3 separate regions of the Homo sapiens genome follow, and regions 1 and 2 are each linked to region 3. The links are contacts of gene promoters, found by promoter capture Hi-C in blood cells and fetal thymus (Javierre and others, 2016). All regions are on one chromosome and are shown on one strand. The core of a region is centred on a gene start or on the middle of the fragment in contact, and the rest is flanking DNA. Distances in the headings are between cores, read along the strand shown. Region 1 has its middle 8.2 kb from the start of CNOT10. Region 2 has its middle 34 kb from the start of CNOT10. Region 3 holds the start of DYNC1LI1 (dynein cytoplasmic 1 light intermediate chain 1).

Region 1 (4,433 bases), core at 1,612-4,111, 110 kb after region 3:
GACCAGCCTGGCCAACATGGTGAAACCCCATCTCCACTAAAAATACAAAAAAAAAAAAAATTAGCTGTGCATGGTGGCACACGCCTGTAATCCCAGCTACTTGGGAGGCTGAGGCAGGAGAATCGCTTGAACCCAGGAGGCAGAGGTTGCAGTGAGCAGAGGTTGCACCACTGCACTCCAGCCTGGGTGACAGAGTGAGACTCCATCTCAAAAAAAAAAATTAAAAAATTAAAAATAAATTAAAAAAGGAGGAATCAAATAGTAGGAATTGGATGGAAGAGCTGAGAAACCAAGCAAAGGAGTAAAGCAACCCAGGCCTTAGCAACAGAAGAATACCACCACCACCCTCAGCTACAGGAGAAAGGGAAGGATGGAAGAGATGTTTCTGACATCCAAGGGCTGGCGTCACTGAACAAAGCCAGAACCATCATGGGACTGTTTGGGGATAAAGCCTTTGCCAGAAAGACTTCTGAGGCAGACATGGAAAGGGAGAAACACCTTGCCCTTCCTCTTGCCCCATAATCTCTCACTGATGCCTTCTGTTGACTGAATTTCACTGAAGCCAGCTGACATGGGAGCCTGGGAAGCAGCCTAGAGGAGTGAGCCCTGTGATACAGAGCAGAGCAGAGCACAACAAGGACAAAATGTAGAGCCAAGGGCAAAGGAAATCCCTTTCATGAGTTATAACCTTATAAATTATGGCTGAACTTTTTTTTTTTTTTTTTTTGAGACAGGTTCTCGATCTGTTACCCAGACTGGAATGAAATGGCAAGGATACTGCTCACTGCAGCCTTGACCTCCTGGGCTCAGGTGATCCTCACACCTCAGCCTCCCAAAGTGTTGAGATTATAGGTGTGAGCCACCACACCTGCCCCCACCTACCTTTAAAAACCCTTACTTGCAAGCCATCAAGAAGGTTGGATCTTAAGCATGAGCTGCCCAATTCTCCTTGCTTGGTGCCCTACAGATAAACACTCCTTTCTCCCACCACAAACCTTGGTGTGGGTATTTGGCCTTACTGTGCCAGGTGAAGGGACCCTGGTTCAGTTAGACAACATAAATATTTGCAGTGCATGTGTACTACCCAAGTACATGACTTCATTGACAAATAAGTATAATCCCAGGGCTTTGGGAGGCCAAGGCAGGTCAAACAAAATTTACCAGACTTGGGTCCAACGGTTACTACCACACTTTAAGTTAGCAAATAGCTTTCCCTTGGAAGCTTGATTTGAACAGCCAGTGAAAGAGAAGCACAGTTGGGCCAGGGGCTTGATGTCCCTGGGTATGTTACTGCTTTGGAAAAAGGGGCAGAAATTTATGCTTTTGCACCTTTGTAGTACTTCTTGGTAACAGAGTGTTCCTGTGATGAATCAGTTGCAAAACCATTTGTAGTTTCCATCTAAATCTTGATTATGGGAATAATAACACCTTGATTTAACCCTCAGGGACCTAGAAAGAGTCACATCTAGAGTCCAAGAACTCTTTTCAAGTTCTAGTTCTAATACTTACTAGCTGAGCAAGTTGATCTACTGATTTACTTTTCAGAAATCAAAAAAAGCCGCACTTTCCTTATCTATAAAATGGGTATGAATATCCTTATCACAGGGATGTTAAGGATAAAAAGAGAAATAATTGTACAAACTCTGTATGAAACCATCAAAGGCCATACAAAAGTAAAGACTGTTTAACACCCCGATATAGTGAGGAATTATATTTTAAAGTTGTGTGGTTACAGATATCATAGTGCTTACTACGCATCGGACGCATATACAAATCAATGGAAATACAATATTGATAATATTTAAAGGCAGAATTTGGAGATTACAGTTAGGGTGGTGGCAAGGGGATTCATGCCAAGAGATTGTCCCCGAAGTGTAATAGAAGATTTGAAAGATGTTAGTACAGTCTTTTTTTTTTTTTTTGAGATGGAGTCTCGCTCTGTCGCCAGGCTGGAGTGCACTGGCACGATCTTGGCTCACTGCAACCTCTGCCTCCCAGGTTCAAGCGATTCTCCTGCCTCGGCCTCCCGAGTAGTTGGGACTACAGGTGCACGCCACCACGCCTAGCTAATTTTTGTATTTTTAGTAGAGACGGGGTTTCACCATGTTGGCCAGGATGGTCTCAATCTCTTGACCTCGTGATCCGCCTGCCTTGGCCTCCCAAAGTGCTAGTAGTACAGTCTTTGGCAGTCAAAAAAGTCTTCTTGGGAAAATGACACTCGTCCTTCCTTGGAAGGTGATGGCATTGGCTACACAAGAGTGTGTGGCCAGGCACAGTGGCTCACGCCTGTAATCTCAGCACTTTGGGAGGCCAAGGCAGGTGGATCACCTGAGGTCAGAAATTCGAGACCAGCCTGGGCACATGGTGAGACCCCATCTCCATTAAAAATACAAAAATTAGCCAGGCATGATGCTGCATGCCTGTAGTCCCAGCTACTCAGGAGGCTGAGGCAAGAGGATTGCTTGAACCCAGGAGGCAGAGGTTGCAGTGAGCTGAAATTGTGCCACTGCACTCTAGCCTGCGTGACAGAGAGACTCAGTCTTAAAAAAAAAAAAAAAAAGAGCATGTGGAGTGGAGGCTAAAGGGGATTATAGACAAATGCCATGGCAAATGCAAAAAAACAATATAGTGCCTCTGAGGAACCCCAGTAATATGGCCAAAGTGGGGAGTATGGAGACATGAAGCCAGAGGTCACAGCCAGATTGTGAAGGCCCTTAAAAGTCCTTGTAGGTCGGGCACAGTGGTTCACACCTATAATCCCAGCAATTTGGGAGCCCAAGCCGGGTGGATCACCTGATATTAGGAGTTCGAGACCAGCCTGAGCACCATGGGGAAACCCTGTCTCTATTAAAAGTACAAAAAAATAGCCAGATGTGGTGGCGGGCACCCGTAATCCCAGCTACTCCAGAGGCTGAGGCAGGAGAATCACTTGAACCGGGAGTTGGAAGTTACAGTGAGCTAAGATCTCGCCATTGCACTCCACCCTGGGCAAGAGCAAAACTCCATCTCAAAAAAAAAAAAGGCCTTTTAAGGAGTTTGGACTTGGTACTAAGAGCATTGAATTGTCTTAAATGGGTGTGGATATAATCCAATTCATATTTCTAAAAATCTTTGGCTAAATGGAAGGATTCTGGAGGAAAACAGACCAGATGAAAAGGTTGAAGTGGCGCTAGTCTCAGTTGGGATTTAGGCTTAGGAATGGAGTAGCAGTGAGAATGGGAAGATCCAGCCTATTTAAGAAGTAGAATGCACAGACCTTGGTTGGTTGAACTAGATGGGGAAATGAATTAGTAGATGTTTCAGTTACCTGTTGCTGCACAACAAAGCATCTTCAAACTCAGCAGTTTAAAAGAATAACATGGGCCAGGCGCGGTGGCTCACGCCTGTAATCCCAGCACTTTGGGAGGCCGAGGCAGGCAGATCACGAGGTCAAGAGATTGAGACCATCCTGGCCAACATAGTGAAACCCCGTCTCCACTAAAAATACAAAAAATAAGCCGGCCGTGGTGGCGGGCGCCTGTAGTCCCAGCTACTTGGGAGGCTGAGGCAGGAGAATCACTTGAACCCAGGAGGCAGAGGTTGCAGTGAGCCTAAATGGGTCACTTAGAAAATTGATGTTTGGGCCAGGCGCAGTGGCTCACGCCTGTAATCCCAGCACTTTGGGAGGCCAAGGCGGGTGGATCACCTGAGGTCAAGAGTTTGAGACCAACGTGGCCAACATAGTGAAACCCCGTCTGTACTAAAAATACAAAAAATTAGCTGGACTTGGTGGTGGGCGCCTGTAATCCCAGCTACTTGGGAGGCTGAGGCAGGAGAATCACTTGAACCCAGGAGGCGTAGGTTGCAGTGAGCCGAGATTGAGCCAGTCCACTCCGGCCTGGGTGACAATAGTGAAACTTTGTCTCAAAAAAAAAAAAAAAGTTCATGGAAAAATAGAATTAAAAAGATAAACTTCATTTCTTAACATAAACTTCATTGAGTTCAAGACACTTATAAATGATGATACCAGATCACTTGAGGTAAGGAGTTTGAGACTAGCTTGGGCAACTTGGTGAAACCCTCTCTCTACTAAAAATACAAAAATTAGCCCAGTGTGGTGGCGCACGCCTGCAATCTCAGCTACTCAGGAGGCTGAGGCATGAGAATGGCTTGAACCTGGAAAGTGGAGGTTGCAGTGAGCTGAGATCATGCCCCTGCACTCCAGCCTGGGCAACAGAGGGAGACTCCATTAAAAAAAAAAAAATCTTAAAGGGCACCCATTTTATTCAGCTAACAATGAAAAAAAGACATGCATTGACATGGTTAAATCCCCAGGCCCCTCAGTTCTTTAGTGATCTGCCTGCCTTAGCCTTAAGGTTAGAAAAAAAAAAGTCAGAAGAAGCCAAATCATGACTGTAAGGTGGATGCCTAATGATTTCCCACTGAAACTCTCA
Region 2 (5,124 bases), core at 2,438-4,937, 82 kb after region 3:
TAGCCTGGATGCTTCCCTTTTGATTAGGATATTCAGAGTATCAGGAATTTTCTTGAAAAACATTCTTATGTAAAGCTAGCGGTGTTAATTTAGGAGTAAAACACAAATACATTTAAACAGTCTCTAGTCTGAGTAGAAACAAGTCATTTTAAACCATAGAGGATTGAGAAAATCATGAATGCGTGAAAGTTTGATGAAGAATAAGTCATTTTCATAGTATCAAAGTATCCTCCCACAAATTACATGTTAATTGTCAAAAGAAAAATAGTAACATGACAGTGGCAAGACCTGGACAAGCTTCATCAAATAATCCAAGTTAACATCATCAATATTGGGACAAACTGACATCAGGAAAACTGATATGATGTGTCTCCAGAAATGATACACTAAAATGATACACTAAGAATGGCACATCATTTCTGCTCAAAAATGCATAACCTGAATCTAATCATGAAGAAATTTCAGATAAATTAAAATCAAGGAACATTGTACAAAACCAGCCTGTGTTCTTCGAAGGTGTCAGTGTCATCATGTACAACAAAGAAAAACTGAAGAACTATTTTCAGATTAAAGAAGAACAAAATACAATTTAATGGGTTTCAGTATGTTTACAGAGTTGTGCAGTCATCACCACTATTGAATTCCAGAACATTTTCATCACCCCCAAAAAAGCCCATTCCTATTAACAGTCCTCCCTCCAGCCCCTGGCCATCACTGATCTTTCCATGTCTATGGATTTGCCTATTCTGGACGTTTCTTATAAACAGAATCACAATATGTGGCTTTGGAGGCTGGCTTCTTTCACTTAAGATGTTTTAAAGGCTAATCCATGTTGTCATGTGTATCAGTACTTCATTTCTTTTTATGGCTGAATATCATTACATTGTATGGATAGACCACATTTTGTGTATCTATCTGTCATTAGCTGATGAACATTTGGGTTGTTTTCACCTTTTGGCTATTATGAATAATGCTGCTATGAATATTTATGTATAAGTACTTGGGGGACTTTTTTTTCTGTTTTTTTTTTTGAGACAGCCTCACTCTGTCACCCAGGTTGAAGCGCAGTAGTGCAGTCTTGGCTCACTGCAACCTCTACCTCCCAGGTTCAAGTGATTCTCCTGCCTCAGCCTCCCAAGTAGCTGGGATTACAGGCATGCACCACCATGCCCGGCTAATTTTTTGCATTTTTAGTAGAGATGGTTTCACCATGTTGGCCAGGCTAATCTTGAACTCCTGGCCTCAAGTGATCCACCTGCCTCAGCATCCCAAAGTGCTGGGATTACAGGTGTGAGTCACCACACCCAGCCTCAAACATATGTTTTCAATGCTCCTGGGTATATACCTAGGTGTAGAATTGCTAGGTCACATGGTAACTCTATGTTTAAGTTTTTGATGAACTTCCAAGCTGCTAGCAAAAGTGGTTGTACTATTTTACATTTCGACCAGGAAATATGTAAGGGTTCCAATTTCTCCACATCTTTGCCAACACTTGTTATTGTCCATCTTTTTTATTATAGCCATTCTAGTGAGTATGAAGCAGTATCTCATTGTGATTTTGATTTGCATTTCTCTAACAATTAATGGTGTTAAAGATCTTTTCATGTGCTTTTTGGCCATTTGTATGTCTTTAGGGAAATGTCTGTTTAGATCCTTTGTCAATTTTTAAATTGGGCTATCTTTTTATTGCAGAGTTGTAAGAGTTTTTAAGTATATTCTAGATACTAGACCCTATCAGATATATGATATTCCAAATATTTTCTCCCATTCTGTAGGTGGTCTTTTCATTTTTTTTGAGAGTGTCCTTTGATGTTCAATAGTTTTTAATTTTGATAAAGTCCATTTTATCTATTTTTTCTTTGGTTGCTGGCTGTACTTTAAGTATTATAGATAAGAAACTATTGCATGATCTGAGGTCACAAAGTTTTATGCCTATTTTCTTCTAAGGATTTTACAGTTTTAGCTTCTTGGGATTTTGAAAGCAAACATACTATATTTGGGTGTGCTGCTCCAACCCACTTAGCATAAAGGAACCAATTTTGAGTGATGTCCCAAAGCAATAAAAAACTCTGCAGCAAATCCCGGCTGTGGTACAAGCCACTGTGCCACTTGGGCCTTTGGACACATAACACTTTGAATGTTCTTTGGTTAAAAAAAAAGGAAATTTATTTTGTATTTATTTATTTATTTTTTGAGACGGAGTCTCGCTCTATCGCCCAAGCTGGAGTGCAGTGGCATGATCTTGGCTCACTGCAAGCTCCGCCTCCTGGGTTCACGCCATTTTCCTGCCTCAGCCTCCCCAGTAGCTGGGACTACAGGTGCCCGCCACCTGGCCCGGTTAATTTTTTGTATTTTTAGTAGAGACAGGGTTTCACAGTGTTAGCCAGGATGGTCTTGATCTCCTGATCTCTTGATCCGCCCGCCTCGGCCTCCCACAGTGCTGGGATTACAGGCGTGAGCCACTGCGCCCAGCCAAAAAAAAAAAAAAAATTTTAAGGTACTAGACAAAGCCACTGGTGAGCCCCAGGAGGAGAATCTTAGCACACATATGTACAATTCTGGAGCAAAGTCATGCCCTCTTTTGCTGTTAATTATTCTCCTTTTGAGAAGCAGTTTCTGATTTACTACTAAGCCCTGCTAGAGACATGTTTGACTATGGGAAGTCAAGCATAGCCATGTGCTTTATCATGATGTTTCAATCAGTCATGAACCACATGTACAACAATGGTCCCATAAGATTATAATGGAGCTTAAAAATTCCTATTGCAAGGTTCAGCATAGTGGCTCATGCCTGTAATCCCAGCACTTTGGGAGGCCAAGACAGGAGCATCACTTGAGGCCAGGAGTTTAAGAACAGCCTGGGGCCGGGCGCGGTGGCTCACGCCTGTAATCCCAGCACTTTGGGAGGCCGAGGCGGGCGGATCACGAGGTCAGGAGATCGAGACCATCCCGGCTAAAACGGTGAAACCCCGTCTCTACTAAAAATACAAAAAAAAAATTAGCCGGGCATAGTGGCGGGCGCCTGTAGTCCCAGCTACTTGGGAGGCTGAGGCAGGAGAATGGCGTGAACCCGGGAGGCGGAGCTTGCAGTGAACCGAGATCCCGCCACTGCACTCCAGCCTGGGCGACAGAGCGAGACTCCGTCTCAAAAAAAAAAAAAAAAAAAAAAAAAGAACAGCCTGGACAACACAGTAAGACCCCATCTCTACCAAAGTAAAAATTTTAAAAAATCTAAAAATGAATTCCTATCACCTAGTGACATTGTAGCTGTTATAACATTGTAGCACAATACATTACTTGTGAATTTATGGTGATGCCGATGTAAAGAAACCTGCACTGCCAGTTGTGTAAAAGTGTAGCACTTACAATTAGGTAAGCACATAATACTTCATAATGATAATAAATGACTTGCTACAGGTTTATGTATTTACTATACTATATTTTTAATCATGGTGTCTACTCTTTGTACTCATTAAAAAAGAAAAAGGAGTTAACTGTAAAACAACCTGAGGCAGGTCCTCCAGGAGGAATTCCAGAAGAAGGCATTGTTATCATAGGAGATGACAGCTCTATGCACGTTATTGCCTCTGGAGAACTTCCAGTGGGAGAAAATATTGAGGGAGAAAATAATGACATTGATGACCCTGACCCTATGTAGACCTAGGAGAATATTGGTGTTTGTGTCTTAGTTTTTGGTTTTCTTTTTTTTTTTTTTTTAATTTTTTTTGAGGTGGGGTCTGGCTCTGTTGCCCAGGCTGGAGTGCAGTAGCACAATCTCAGCTCACTGCAACCTCTACCTTCCAGGCTCAAGCGATCCTCCCACCTCAGCCTCCTGAGTAGCTAGGACCACAGGCATGCACCACCATGCCCAGCTAATTTTTTGTATTTGTAGTAGGGATGGGGTTTCACCATTTTGCCCAGGTGTGGTGGTGCATGTCTGTAATCCCAACTACTCAGGAGGCTGAGGCGGGAGAATCGCTTGAACCCAGGAAGGGGAGGTTGCAATGAGCTGAGATCGTGCCACTAAACTCCAGCCTGGGCAACAAGAGCGAAACTTCACCTCAAAAAAAAAAAAAAAAAAAAGTCTTTAAGTAATTTTGAGTTGATTTTGACTGAGCATGGTGGCTCATGCCTGTAATCCCGGCACTTTGTAGGGGCGGAGGTGGGTGGATCTCCTGAGCTCAAGTGATCCTCAGCCTCCCAAAGTGCTGGGATTACAGGCATGAGTCACTGTGCCCAGCCTTGTGTTTCTGTCTTAGCTTTTAACAAAAAAATTTAAAAAATAAAAAACAAAATACTTTTTCTTTTTTTTTTTTTTTGGATACAGCCTCATTCTGTCGCCTAGGCTGGAGTTCAGTGGCGCAATCACAGCTCACTGCAGCCTCAACCTCCTGGGCTCAAGCTATCATTTCACCTCAACCTCCTGAGTAGCAGGGACTACAGACACACACCATCATGCCCAGCTAATGTTTATATTTTTCATAGAGATGAGGTTTCACCATGTTGCCCAGGCTGGTCTCAAACTCCTGAGCTCAAGAGATCCACCCAGCTTGGCCTCCCAAAGTGCTGAGATTACAGGCACACACCACTGCCCACTGTGCTCGGCCCAAAAATTTTAAAATAGAAAAAAACTTATACGATAAGGATATAAAGAAATAATATTTTTGTACAGCTGCACTATGTGTTTGTATTTTAAGCTAAGTGTTATTACAAGAGTCAAAAAGATTTCTTAAACTTTATAAGGTAAAAATATTATTGAAGAAAAAATATTTTTTATACATTTAGCATAGCCTAAGTATATAGTGTTTATAAAGCCTACAGTAGTGGCTGGGCGCGGTGGCTCATGTCTGTAATCCCAGCATTTTGGGAGGCCGAGGCTGGTGGATCACCTGAGGTCAGGAGTTCAAGACCAGCCTGCCCAACATGGCGAAACCCTGTCTCTACTAAAAGTATAAAATTAGCCAGGCGTGGTGGTGCATGTCTGTAATACCAACTACTCAGGAGGCTGAGGCAGGAGAATCGCTTGAACCCAGGAAGGGGAGGTTGCAGTGAGCTCAAATCGTGCCACTGCACTCCAGCCTGGCAACAAGAGCGAAACTTTATCTCAAAAAAAAAAAAAAAAAG
Region 3 (4,777 bases), core at 1,468-3,967:
TTTGTTTTTTTAAATAAGAGACTCCAGAGACCACTTGCATTCATGAAAGATGTATTAGGGTCAAGCATCCTCCTGCCTAGCACCTTCAAACTCATAACAAAGAAAACCACAATCCCTATTTGGTATTTCTTTCCTCCACCAGCACAGAGTGAATGCTGCCATATGTGACGGTGAAATGTCTGTAAGAAATCTTCAGGGGTATTTTAGAAAGTTAACTCTATTTTTGTAACCAGTATACAAATCAGTTATTAGCTCCTTCCAAAGCTGAAAAGGACTCTCTGATGAAAATCCCAATAGTACTGAAAGAAAAATATTAAATTTCAAGCTCATATTACCTGATATTAGATGCACTTTATGAACTATTAAGTTCATAAAAAAGGAAATTTAATCTATTCTTGTATGGTGGAGTGAAGGAGGCTGGGACCTCTAAGAACACTCAGTCCCATGCACAGACCCAGTGTCAAAGGGGTGTTAAAAAAAAAATGGCACAACCTCAGTGCAAATTAGGTATACCAAAAAATGAACAAAACTGCCACTTTTGTTTTACCATAAACAGAATCATCTACACAATATCTAATGTGCAGAAATAACTGGACAAAATGTATAAAATAAGAACAAAACTACTGAATCTTACCTTTACCATGACAGTGTTTCCAAATATTTAATTAAAATAGAATCAATTTCAATGAGGTCATATGAGCTTAAATCCATTTTACCTTAGAAATGAGTAGTAATTTGTTTAAATTAGTAAACTAAAAATATATTATACAATTTTTTTTTGCTTTTGGATCCTAATTTATTTTTGCCCTATGAATATCACTTATGTAGGCACTAATTCAATTTTTTAAAAAGTTCTGATCACAAATATTTTCTAATGCAGTTTAAGATAAATCCATGACAAAGTATCACTTGCAAATATTACCACGATACAAACATTAACTCATTTGATTCCCGCCACAACCCTAGAGGCAAGTATTATTATTTCTATAACAACCATTTTAAAGATGAAGAAACTGAGGTTTATAGATGTCAAGCAACTTGCTTAAGATCCTAGGGCTTATATGTGATAGGGCAGTGACTCAATCCAGGCTAATCTTCAGTAGGTGCTTTCAACCACATTAAAAACAAGGGTAAAAACTAATTTTTCAACTAGCTCCATGTAGCTTTAAAGAATATCAATAATCATATATTCTTGCTTGGCAGCAGTCTATTAAAAAAGTAATTTTTTCTATGTAAACATTCATATTTAACCACGCAGCCTATCAAGTAGTATTTGACTTCTTGTTTCCTGTTTTTAGATGGATATAACCAAAACAACAACAACAACAACAAAAAACTCTGGTATTGAGCCGACACCAAATACCAAAGTTTTTAAATTTAATCATCGTATAAGCCAAACTTCAGTTATCTCGCATGTAAAGAGCTATATAGAGAAATTTCTCCTATAAATGATTCAGGAGCTAAGCCTAGAAAAATGCGAATCTGCGAACTATTCTCCCTCAGTCCTCTATCCCCACCCCCAGAGTCACTAAAGAAACAGAATACACAACTTCCAGAGAGCCGAGGAGATACAGAACAATCAGGAGAACTGACACTGGACCGTTTCTCCTTATTACATCCATTTGGCTGAAAAGACTTAACTAGAAAGTTGTGTTCTACTGCCCTTTACAAATTTCAGAATTATATGTGACAGTTAAGGTAGCTGCAACACGAGCACATTGTACCAGAGAACGCTGAATCAAGAACATTTATCGCCAGGTCTTAGTTCTAGCTTCTGTCAATTATACAAAGAGTCAGCTATTAAATATTAATGGCATGCCATTTGCGCTGCAGCTCTCGCAAAGAGCCTCCTGCTACCAATTTTTGTGATGAAAGAAAACCTGTCATTTTCTAGATAAACCCCAGGCCACGAGAATCCCTCAGATGAGCGATCGAATTCTGTCCTTCCCAGGGGAAGCTGTCAGGGCCACCCCCATATACCGGGGAGGAGGAGGAGGAACCTGAGGGAGGGCGGGTCCCCGCAGGTCCTGGGTCAAGGGTCTCGTGTTCCCCTTCTCTCCCAGCCATCCGCGACAGGTCGGGAGGCGAGGCGGGGCGGGGCTGGGCCGGCTGTCCGCACAAAGAGAGCCAGCGAGCTAGCCCGCGGACCAGGTACCCCGGGCCGCTGGGGGCCGGGCGGGGCGGGGCGAGGCAGGGAACACTTACCCAGCAGTAGCACGTTCTTCCCCGCAGGGAGCTTGGAGCGCGAGCGGGTGGAGACCTCGCTGAGGATGCAGGACCTAACGGGAAGCAAGGCGTACGGTGAGGCCGGAGGCCGGAGCCGCAGCGCGGGAGGGACGGACCCGGCCTCGGCGCGCCGGGGATGGGGCTGCCGGGAACGCAGTGGCCGGGCCCGGCGCCGAGCTCCAGCGGGCACGGGATCCCGAGGCGTCCGCGCAAGGCCGGGGGAGCCAGCGGGGGCTGAGGGAGAGGTGGAGTCGTTACCAAAGGTTCTGCCCGTCCTCGTCGTCGCCTGCCGCGGCGCCACCGTTGCCCGACGCTATCTCGTTGCCCAAGGGGCCGCCAGTGTAAGTCGAGGATAATCCCGGCGGAGAAGAACCGAAGGAGCCGACTCGCCCCACGGCCGCCATCTTGGTCGGGAATCACACCACTCCCGGCAAGACTAAATGTGCGAGGCGGCTGAGGCGGTGGCGGTGGAGGCGGCGGGAACCCGGATATGGGGCGTTCAGCGCACGGGAGCGGGGCGGGGCCTGCGGGGGCGGGGCCCCGGGCCGGGCCAGGACTGATGGAGCGAGCGAGAACGGACTGCGCGTGCGTGGCTGCCTGGCCGGCGCTGAGGGGCTGAGCGTACGCGGGCGGCGGGGTGGGCCGCTATGCTGCAACTGAAGCCCAGTGATCTGACAGTATGGAAGTGCTTTCCTTCCGCTCATCCGCGGCCCTGGGCTGCGGCAGGGGGGTTGGGTGTGTCAGGTGAAAAGTGCTCCCTCCCACCCTTCAGACAGGTCCCCAAACCCTGCGGCCTGCGCGGAATTCCTGCATTGTCATTGCCGGCCCACCCACTGTTCAGGCTGAGAGCGGTCCCCCGCCCAAACCGGCGCTTCGCCGGCGCCAAGATAGAAATGGGTCGCCCGGCTGGTAAAGAGGCTGCCCTGCAACCCTGGGCTGGAGTATTGCTGTGGTCCTGGATTTCTGGACTTTATTTGCGTTCTCAAGTGGCGAAGTGTTCCTCAACCTGGACCCACATCAGAAGCAGGTTCTCCGAGCCCCTAAGCAGCGGCGTGACAAAGTAATTGTTTACCCTGGAAATAGACTGTTATTTTTTAAAAATTATTGTCAGGGCTTGCTTTAATGTTCTTAATGTTTTTGTATGAGATCCTCCATGTGAGATTTGAAAAGATCCACTATGCGGGTCATCTAACCGGTCACTAGACATTGATTCCACACTTACTACGTCGAGCACAGTTGACACTGGGAATACATGGATGGACTTATACTAGCCCTAAAATAACTCCTTTTCTATTAGAACTTTACTAGGTAAAGGTATTTGAATGTCTGAACTCCATGTTTAGAAGGAGTCATTGGTTTTAAGGCTCTGTCCTAGTACACCTGTAAGAGCATTTGCTTAAAATTGCCTGGCCTTTGTATGTTATCTCTGTCACTTCATATTTGAAAATCACTTGCTAGAATATGGCCTGATCAATGCTGTTATGCTAGTGAGAAAATCCACAACTAAAGACTATTTGCTATATATTAGCATTACGGTTAGAAGTCTGGAAGCCTTTGGAGGCTGGCAAATCTGAGTTCAGGTCTAGCTCTTCGAGTTTACTGGCTGTGTAACCTTAGGCAATTTACTTAACCTCCGTGAGTCTCAGTTTCCTTATCTGTCAAATGAGGATAAAAGAACTTAGAGTTGTTATTGAGATTAAACGGGATGATTCATGTAAAATGGCTTAGAATAACGACTGGCAAATCTTAAGCGCTTACCACATGTTAATTGTTATCAATGACTTTCTTTACCTTTCACACCATTAATATCTGACCAACCTCTAGAAGTGATGGGCCTAAAGAACTCTTGGAGCTAAAATTCTTTGTCACCTGTAATGCCAGCGCTTTGGGAGGCCAAGGCAGGCAGATTGCTTAAGCCCAGGAGTTCTTGACCAGCCTGGGCAACATGGCGAAACCCCGGCTCTACAAAAAATTAGCCAAGCGTGGTGGTGTGTGCCTATAGTCCCAGCTATTTAGGAGGCTGAGGTGGGAGGATCACCTGAGTCCAGGAGGTCGAGGCTGCAGTGAACTGTGATCATGCCACTGCAATCCAGCCTGGATGACAGAGCAAGACCCTGTCACTAAATAAATAAATAAATAAATAAAATAAAACTTTTGATTTTGTTGTTTATATACTTAAGAAAGGAACCAGAACCCTCCCCAGTAGTCCTACACTTTCTGTGGCACAAAGCAGGATGGAGACCCCCAGGAGAAGCTGAGTCTTTATGTTACTGTTCTAAAGGAGAGCTGTATACTGCTCTTGGCCCCTCTGAAAGCCATTTTACTCTGTACTTTATTCTTTCAGTCATCTTCCTCAGAGCATTTTCCCCTCAATTTTGTTGTCAGTTCCATATCATATTTGCTTAGTCTGAGAAGTGTTTACTTTTATAATAGTGTCAGGCTTCAACACCTCATGACTTCCAGATGCTCAACTACCCACCTAAATTGAGGTCAAAGTTGTATTCCTTGTGGTTTTATAATATCCCTATCCAGCATTCTTCCATTAAGGTGG

What was found. The method cuts DNA at HindIII sites, captures the fragments that hold promoters and counts their contacts. A CHiCAGO score of 5 or more calls a contact.
Region 1: a contact is called between a fragment that was not itself captured here and the fragment with the promoter of DYNC1LI1 in region 3, in 2 of 17 cell types (neutrophils and erythroblasts). The highest score is 10.4, in neutrophils.
Region 2: a contact is called between a fragment that was not itself captured here and the fragment with the promoter of DYNC1LI1 in region 3, in 1 of 17 cell types (erythroblasts). The highest score is 5.3, in erythroblasts.

Annotation. Positions count from the first base shown.
Region 1 is chr3:32,674,779-32,679,211 of GRCh38, forward strand. No RefSeq gene overlaps it. Among named protein-coding and RNA genes, the nearest start is that of CNOT10, 8.2 kb to the right of the region's middle. The HindIII fragment of the contact is 3,283 bases long and covers 1,221-4,433 here.
Region 2 is chr3:32,648,723-32,653,846 of GRCh38, forward strand. No RefSeq gene overlaps it. Among named protein-coding and RNA genes, the nearest start is that of CNOT10, 34 kb to the right of the region's middle. The HindIII fragment of the contact is 6,784 bases long and covers 296-5,124 here.
Region 3 is chr3:32,568,141-32,572,917 of GRCh38, forward strand. It overlaps DYNC1LI1 (dynein cytoplasmic 1 light intermediate chain 1), which reads right to left and starts at 2,718. Exons shown (of 13, transcript NM_016141.4): 1 at 2,485-2,718; 2 at 2,206-2,279. The coding sequence starts at 2,630. RefSeq lists an enhancer at 1,926-2,711 and silencers at 1,986-2,475, 2,656-2,915. The HindIII fragment of the contact is 15,701 bases long and covers 1-4,777 here.